Linked DNA regions of Homo sapiens: regions 1 and 2 are each linked to region 3. Evidence: promoter capture Hi-C in human tissues and cell types (Jung and others, 2019). All regions are on one chromosome and are shown on one strand. Each heading gives the region's core, a stretch centred on a gene start or on the middle of the fragment in contact. The rest is flanking DNA. Distances are from core to core; before and after follow the strand shown.

Region 1 (2,700 bases), core at 111-2,610, 160 kb before region 3:
TTATTCTGAATGTGTCTATGAGGGTGTTTCTGGATGAGACTAACATTTGAATCAGCAGACTGAGTAAAGCAGATTGCCCTCTGTGTTAGTCAGGGCTTTCCAGAGAAAGAGAACCAGTAAGATGGAGATTATACATATAAAATATGTGTATGTCTGTAATGAGATAAGGAATGGGCTCACATGATTACAGAGGCTAACAAGTCCCACAAGTGGTGCAAATGACAATCTGAAGGCCTGAAACCCAGGGGTGCTAATGCTGTAAGTCCCAGTACAAGGAAAGAAGACTAATGTCTCCACTCAAGCAGTCAGATTAATGTTCTTGTGCCATTTTGTTCCAGTCAGGCCATCAGTGGGTTGGATGATACCCACCCTACAATGGGGAGGGTAATTTGCTCTCAGTCCAATTACAATGACAATCTCTTCCAGAAACAGCCTCACAGATACACCCAGAAATAATGTTTAACTAGGTATCTGGGCATCTCTTACATTAGCCCAACTGACACATAAAACTAACCAATACACACTCCCTAATGTGGATGAGCCCATCAGTTGAAGCCCTGAATAGAACACAAAGGTTGGCCCTCTAGTCAACAGGAGAAAACTCCTTCTGCCTGACTCCGCCTGCCTGACTGCCTTTGAACTACGACATTGACTTTTTCCTCCCTTCAGACATGAACATTGGCTCCTTCTGGGTCTCAAGCTCTCATGCTTCTCAAGCCTTTGGACTCATATTATTAATACACCATTGGCTGTCCGGGGTCTGGAGCTTGCAGACTCACCTTGCAGATCTTGAGATTTGCCCACCTCCATAATCGTGTGAACCAATTCCTTATAATAAAGTCCTTTATACATAAAAACACAAAAATGTTTTATATATATGGTATATATCTAGATAGATATGTATCTCCTATTGGTTCTATTTCTCTGTGTAACCCTAACACAACCATGAACTGTCACATCATTTTTCTCAAACTTCTTCAAACACATTAGGGCCTTTGTATGTTTCCTTTTTCACAAATGTTTATTACTATGTTGTTACCTTCTCATTCAAGTCTCAATTTCAATATCTCCTGCCCTAATATTCTTTGAAAAATGGCTTCCTCTCACCCTTCACCAATGATTCTCTACCTCAGCCTCTTATTTTTGTTCCCTTCAAAACCCTTATCAAATCTATAATTATTTTTATTACTTACTCATGCCTGTCTTCCCTGAATGGAAGGTAACCTTCATGAGGGTAGGCACCACATCTGTGTTATTCACTGTATCCTGGAGCCCTAGGGCAGAGCCTGTCACAGCAACTTTTAATCAATGTTGCAGAATAAAGAATAGCCCAGAGTTTACAGTCCCTGTCCTCTTCTTTGGAACTTCCATCCACTTTATCAGATAATGACCTTTGCATGAACAAGATGATGCTGGTGATGATAAAGACCCCCCTGTACCCTCCCCCAGTAAAGTGATGCTTGCTCCCCTATACCACTGTGAAGTCCTCTGCCATCTTTATGCTATTCTTACTCTCTGGACTCATCACTGAAATGAGGACTTACTCTCACAGGGGCTGTGCCTTACTACTTAACTGGGTATTCACACTGGTGATTCAGGTTAACAGTTAAGTCACCACCTCATGTGACGCACAGCAGGGACTTTTCCCCACCACCAACACCAGGCTACATGCAGCTTGAAGCTCTGGGTACTATGATAAGTCTCATGGGTTTGCTCAATGAACTGACTTATCCATTCCAGTTCCTCTGCGGCACCTAAATCAGAATAACCCTGGGTAACAATGGTGGATCAGTGGTGGGGATAAACATTAATGGGTACAACCTTTAACAAGAGTCTATGCTTAGAAATGGAGGATTTGAGGGCTAATCGGCTTCACCTTTCCCTAATAAAAATTATTTTTGTACTATTATTCATAGCTACCTTTGGCTGGTTCCACCCAATCAGTGCTTGCTATCTGTTCCTCACACTGGACCCATGAGGAGAGCTCTTATTTCCACATAGCACGGAAAGCAAAGTGAAAGCAGGACAGGAATTCACTGATTGGTCTGTGGTCAGTTCGTGAAGCTGATGAGCTTCTCACTGCTGTTGTTCCACTGGTGCTCTGATTCTCTCCTGCTTCACAAAAGGCAACAGGAGGAACATCTTTAACTCAGGTAGAACAATCTGATCTTGGTGCATGCCACCACCTAATTGAAGATAAAATAACCTGTCAGCACTAGTTACGTGAATTTGTCTCTATATACCTCAAAGTCCCCAAATGAGGCCAATCACAGTTATCTGAAACCTGCCAGCAAGCCAGGGAACTGGGTCCTGGGAAATCTTTCTTGACTATATCTGCTGTATCACAGGAAACTATGTAGAACCTTAAAAGATCTTCAGACTGTATATGCCTGGGATGATACTCTGCTCACCCAGTTCCTGACTGCATAAAATGTGACTGGAGTGTGAACTATGTTCATTTCCTGTACAACAGTTTTTCTTACCAAGTAAAAAGTCCCCTCATACCTGCTCTACTGAAAAAGGCTTAATCCTTTTCACTTCGCCAATGTGAATTTCATGCTGTAATGGGCCAAGTTTTGGAAAAACAAAGCAGTTGTTTTATACCTGCCCAACTTTCTGTTCACACAGGTGAACAGGACTATCAGTGGTGAAATCTCGCCAACATCTCTCGTAAAAGATCCTTGATTTAACAATGACTGA
Region 2 (2,700 bases), core at 140-2,639, 220 kb before region 3:
GCTCTGGCCTCTTTATCTTTTTGTAAAGGTATTAATCCCATTCATGAGGCCTCTGACCTCATGGCCTAATTACCTCCCAAAGGCCACACCGCTGAACACATTGAGAACTTAGGCTTCAACATACTAATTTTGAAAGGTACAAACATTCAGTCCACAGCAAGCCATGAAACCAAAAATGCTCTTATATTCTGGTTTTACATGTAGAGTATTAAAGAGAGCTTCATGCAGATGAACCTCACAGGATAACAGAAGTTGAAGTGTGTGGTTTTAACTTGTAAAGTTATTCCATACAGGGTATTTTACAATTTTTGAGTTAACGCAAGGCTATCCTATAATTTTCAATGAAGAATTTTGCATACTTCTATTAATGCTTGACATTCTAAAGCCATGAAACACACTTTCCGTTCCTCCACAGTCTCCCCAGCTGTCTACTTGCTGTCCCTTAAACATACTGAACCCATTCCTGACTCCTAGATTTAGCTCCTTAGTGTTCCATTCTCCATGTGGAACACTTTTATCTCTGCATATTCAAACTTATCTAACCTTCACATTTTGTCCCAAGCCCCATCTTATATTTAGATGTTAAGACTTCTCCAATTCCTGCCATCTCTAGTCACCTTGCTTACAACTGTGTATATTCCACAGTGAATTAATGTACTCTATGTGCCAGGAAGTGTGCTGGGCACTGGAGATGCAGCAGTGAACAAAACAGATGAGTGGTAAACAAGGCAGAGGAACAATCAGACAAAAATTAAAATTATATTTCTATAGTAAAAGGTAATATGGCAAGATTACCAAGACGGACTTCAGAATGAGAAGAGATCTCACCAGGTTTTCTGAGACCTAGGGTGATGCTAGATTGGGTCAGACCTCACTGTGAGCTGTCCTGGGAAAGAATCAAGGTTTGAGACTAGTAGTTACCACCACCCAATGAAGTGTAGATAGAAATAAACCACCAGTACACACACAGTTTATTGTGGATAAGTCTGGAGTTATGCAAAGCCTATCCTCTCCTCTCAAGATTTAGCGTACTGTACCATTAATGACACACTTCTTTGCCTCCTTTATAAAATGAACAGGTCTTTTTAAGTTCTGGTAGTTATCGCTCTTTCAAAATATCATATCAATGCTATCTTTCTTCAAGCAGCATAAAGTGAATTTTGAAGTGTTTTATTCTGATGATGTCCCTTGAAAGATATCCACTTGTTAAGTATCTCTCATGTAATTTTCAGTCTAAAGTCCATCATCTGTAGACAGAAGTGAGGACAGCACAGTTGGAAAGAGGCCTAAAGCTGTTATTTTAAACAAATAGCTAGTTACAAGTGCTGGTGAGGGAGAGCTTTTCCATTTCTCTTTTCATACACAGACTAGCTTGTCACTGCAGCATTTGTGTCCCTCATCTGATCAGCTAGAGGGGTGTCCAGAAATCCCCTAGCTACAATAGCCACTTGCAAACTCCAGATACATCAAAACAATGATTAATAAAATATATCTATAAGCGTGTTTACAGTCACAGGGGGTTAAGAGGGAAATGAAATAGCAGCTATTGCAAACTCCTTTCCCCTGGAATTCATAATTTATTTACCTTGTCTGTCCTGTTCCCGGTGTGGCTACAATCAATTGCATTCCATGTCAACTCCTAGTACCACAGTCTACTGTGCCTGCATTTCTAGCTGTACACACTAAAAATTCTATGAACACTTTCAAGAAAATATCAACATCTACATATTAGTTATCCAGGTGAAATATAATTGCTACTAGAAAACGATCTGGGGGGCCTATTCTTCCCTGTAGAAGTGTCCTTAGAGAGAAGTATATTAATCAGGGTAGGCTAAGTGAGGAAAGAACCCCAAAACCTCAATGACTTAATATAATCAACAATTATTTCTCATCTATGCCAAATGTAATGTGGATATTCCTGGTCTGGCTGTTCTCCTAAACACAAACTAGGGGATCCAGGTTCCTTCCAACTTTTACTGTTTGCAACTGCAACATAACATACCACTATTTTCATGCAATAATATGAGTGTAGGCATGGCCTACCAAAAATTTAACCACCTCTTCCAAAGTAACACATAATAATTTAGGTTCACATTAAATAAGCCAGAAATAGCCAAAGGCCTCACCTAGATTCAAGAGCCTTGGGAAATGTAAACCCGGCAAAATGGCATTCAACCTCCTGGAAAGGGAATGCCACGTTGCCGGTGATCAGCTAGCCATCTCTGTTCTGAGGACCTAATGTAGACATATTTTTTAAAAACACACACACACACATGATCTACCAATCTCAACTCTTACCAATCCTCCAGGAGATTATCAATGCCTGGCTCCTAAGTCCTCACAGTGATACAGTCCCGGTTTAAAGACAGGGGCTTAGGAGGCCAACAAACCTAGATTCAAATTCTAACCCATCACCTAGCAGTGGTGTGACCTTGTGCAGATAGCATATCCCTTCTCTGCTTCACCTCAACAATGGAGATAACCCTCATATTTTATTCACAGGGTTGTTGTGAAAATTAAATGATGGGGCGTCTCAATAAAGATACCCCCAAAATGAGAACAAAAGCTGTTTAATTAGAACTTGATGTAACAAGGAGTCAGCCACTGTCACTTGCATTTGCCAGAGTCAAGGTCAGGCAGGGAATGAGAAAACTTTATAATGAAAAAAGGGAAGGCTTCAGGTATGCTTTGATTGGAGGC
Region 3 (2,700 bases), core at 8-2,507:
CCACTTCCCAGCGCCCAGCACAGCGAGGCTCCCAAGCAGCCGGCACTTCATAGACACAGCTCCAAGGATCTTATTTACGCTTTTCTGAACAAAGGGAATCTCATATCCGGTACAGGCTTAAGAATTCAGCCCCAAATTGGCTATCTTCTTTTAAAACTGAATTATGATAATTGGAGTCCGTGAATCAGAGCCCGCATACAATGATGAGTTCTGACAGCTTCTAACAACCCTAGCCTCAGCCCAGCCCCAGCCCCAGCCCTCAGGCGGCATGTACTTTTTTCAGTCAACTACAACTCGCTGCCTGGTGCAGCATCTAAATTCCATCTGGCAATCCCATCTCCCCAGCACATGCTATCTGGTTAATGCAATTAAGCCTGTGGTTTTCGCTGGTCTAATCTGCCAGTCCAGGCTTCTGATTCCCCTTAATGATTGTAAAGCCTCTCCCGTCCTTCCGTTGCTGAGCCAAAGTAGAGGCATGCATCCCCAACACCCAAGTTATCACTCTCTCCCCACGAAATGAACTTCCGATCTCAATCTTGAAGCTCACTCCACATCTAACCTCCCATTGTACCCCTACTCCCCCCTGGCCACATTTACCACTTAAGTTTCTGCCATGGACATTTACGAATATTCAGTACGCTAAGCATGCGTCCACCGTCTTTTAGTCTAGCTCTTTAAAATTAAAAAAGCAGAACAGTAGCTTTGAAATGAGACAAACATGTGCAATTAACTTCATATTCTGTATTCCGCTCACTTACAGGTTTTCTGGGTTTGCCAGCGCATCGCTGCAACTAATGATTAAAGAAACCAAACCGAAACTTACCTTTCTCCCTTAAGGTTTTTGTGTATGTGTGTTTTTAAAGTAACGGTGCAGTTCTCCCAATAAGGATGAGCAAGAAGCTGCTGGATAGTTCTCTTAAGACAGCACGAAACCTAAACTGTGCTCGGCTTAAAAGAAGCAAATAAAAAGAAACGCTTTCGACCCCAAAGTCCAATGCTAAAAGAAATGGCGAAAAAAAATATGAAAGGGGAGGGGAAACTTAAAAAAGAGTTTAAAAAGACGGAGAGACTACCCTCCTATTGCCGTTCAACTAAACAAAAAGGGGCAAGAAAAACAAACCAAGGAACAAAGAAAAGAGACGAAAGAACGTTTTTTCAAAAAGACGATGTCTTTCTCCTTGTTGCTTTTTAGTAGGTCGCTACAGGAGTAAGCTGCTGCATCTCTAACTAAGAACAGAAATAGGGGGGAGGACGTCTTAAAAGGGAGGTGGACTGGACCACAGATTTATAGCACCGTATCACCAACCCCTTCTCTGCCTCCGCACTGCCGTGTGTGCAGCTGCTCTGCCAGGCTCCTATCCCGGGCAGCACGCGCGGAAGTATACGCCGAATCGCGCCACAACGTAACTTGCTCATCGCCCCAGGATCCTGATTGGTCCACACGCTTCCATTGAGGCCGCCCAGGCGGGGCCGCGTGAGACGATTGGCTATGGGCTTGTGTCACTCTCGAGAGCTCAATGGAGTCCCGTTTCAAGGTAAGTTGTGCGGGGAGGTACACTCTTAACACTGGCGGCGAAGGGAAATGCAAGAAGCAAAAAGAAATGTGGAGAGAGCAACGTGGGAGGGTTGGAACTGTACTATCAGAGTTTGCGATATGGCACGATCTCCTTTCCTCTTAAATCTTTCTGCTTCAGAAAGATTCATTTCCTTTGCCATCACTGCTGCATCTGTGGCATATTTCTTTATAACATTTAACTCTGTCCGGTATGTATGAGTCATTGAGAGCTCCCTCTCTTTGATCTGAGTGAAAGGGATGAATGTACATCCATTATTTGCCCGCATGCCTTTTTTCGATTTGTGTTCAGTACTGTATTTTGTATTAGATGTTAGGTAATTGTATGTCTTTATTTTAATATACGCATATTTCAGATTTATGTGTCCCCATGAACCCCTTTTTAAAGCATCCTTTTAAGATAAAGATGAAGTCAGAAATGCTCTCAAATAAAGCTGCACGGTTTGAATTGGCTTTCACTTCATGTTAGAATAGAAAAGTGTAGGATAAATATCCTATCCAGAAAAAGAGGTATTGAGTAGAGCTAAGGTCCTTCACTTCGAGGTGTCTAATGATTCTCAAAAAGAGCAGCTGTATATAAAACTGGAACAAGCCACTCCTCTGCATTTGCAGACAGGTACAGTCCTTGGACCACACATGTATTGCTGACAGCAAAGATAGTTGAACCTTTATCAGGGCTCTTTCTGTGAGGATTTAAGAAGTTTAACCAGAAGACCAAGTGCTATCAATGCTTCTGCTTCATAGAGGAAGACTACTTTATTACAACCCCATATTTTAACAGCATTCAGGAGACCAAAATACAGTTTTATGCATGATAATTGTTTCTTCCTCTAAGTGAAAGTGAGGTCCTCAGGATCGTCTGGATGTATAAGTAGACACAATATTCATTTGACCTACGTTCTTTTCCAGCCAGCATTTCTCTTTTCAATCTTGAAAGATAGCACCAACTTCCTAGACAGTTTTTACCATTCTTACCAGAATGTGTAAATGTAATGTACACATTACATTACACATGTAATGTGTCTTAACCAGAGGCACATGCCTTTTTGAAAGGGATTCCTTTACATATTTACAACTAGTCGCTATCTTTGAGAATGCCGGAAAAAGAAGACACAGGTAAGAGTTAG

Evidence for each region. Contacts are between HindIII fragments. The study calls those that stand out against the background at their distance.
Region 1: a contact is called between a fragment that was not itself captured here and the fragment with the promoter of ELAVL2 in region 3, in 1 of the 25 tissues and cell types used here (mesendoderm cells).
Region 2: a contact is called between a fragment that was not itself captured here and the fragment with the promoter of ELAVL2 in region 3, in 2 of the 25 tissues and cell types used here (dorsolateral prefrontal cortex and spleen).

What each region holds. Positions count from the first base shown.
Region 1 is chr9:23,660,906-23,663,605 of GRCh38, forward strand. LOC101929563 (a long non-coding RNA gene) reads right to left here. Exons shown (of 28, transcript NR_121602.1): 4 at 1,921-2,112. Among named protein-coding and RNA genes, the nearest start is that of ELAVL2, 160 kb to the right of the region's middle. The HindIII fragment of the contact is 5,088 bases long and covers 1-2,700 here.
Region 2 is chr9:23,607,042-23,609,741 of GRCh38, forward strand. All of the region lies in intron 9 of LOC101929563 (a long non-coding RNA gene), which reads right to left. Among named protein-coding and RNA genes, the nearest start is that of ELAVL2, 220 kb to the right of the region's middle. The HindIII fragment of the contact is 7,072 bases long and covers 1-2,700 here.
Region 3 is chr9:23,824,983-23,827,682 of GRCh38, forward strand. It overlaps ELAVL2 (ELAV like RNA binding protein 2), which reads right to left and starts at 1,258. Exons shown (of 7, transcript NM_004432.5): 1 at 824-1,258. It overlaps LOC105375992 (a long non-coding RNA gene), which reads left to right and starts at 1,446. Exons shown (of 3, transcript XR_929519.3): 1 at 1,446-1,535. The HindIII fragment of the contact is 12,029 bases long and covers 1-2,700 here.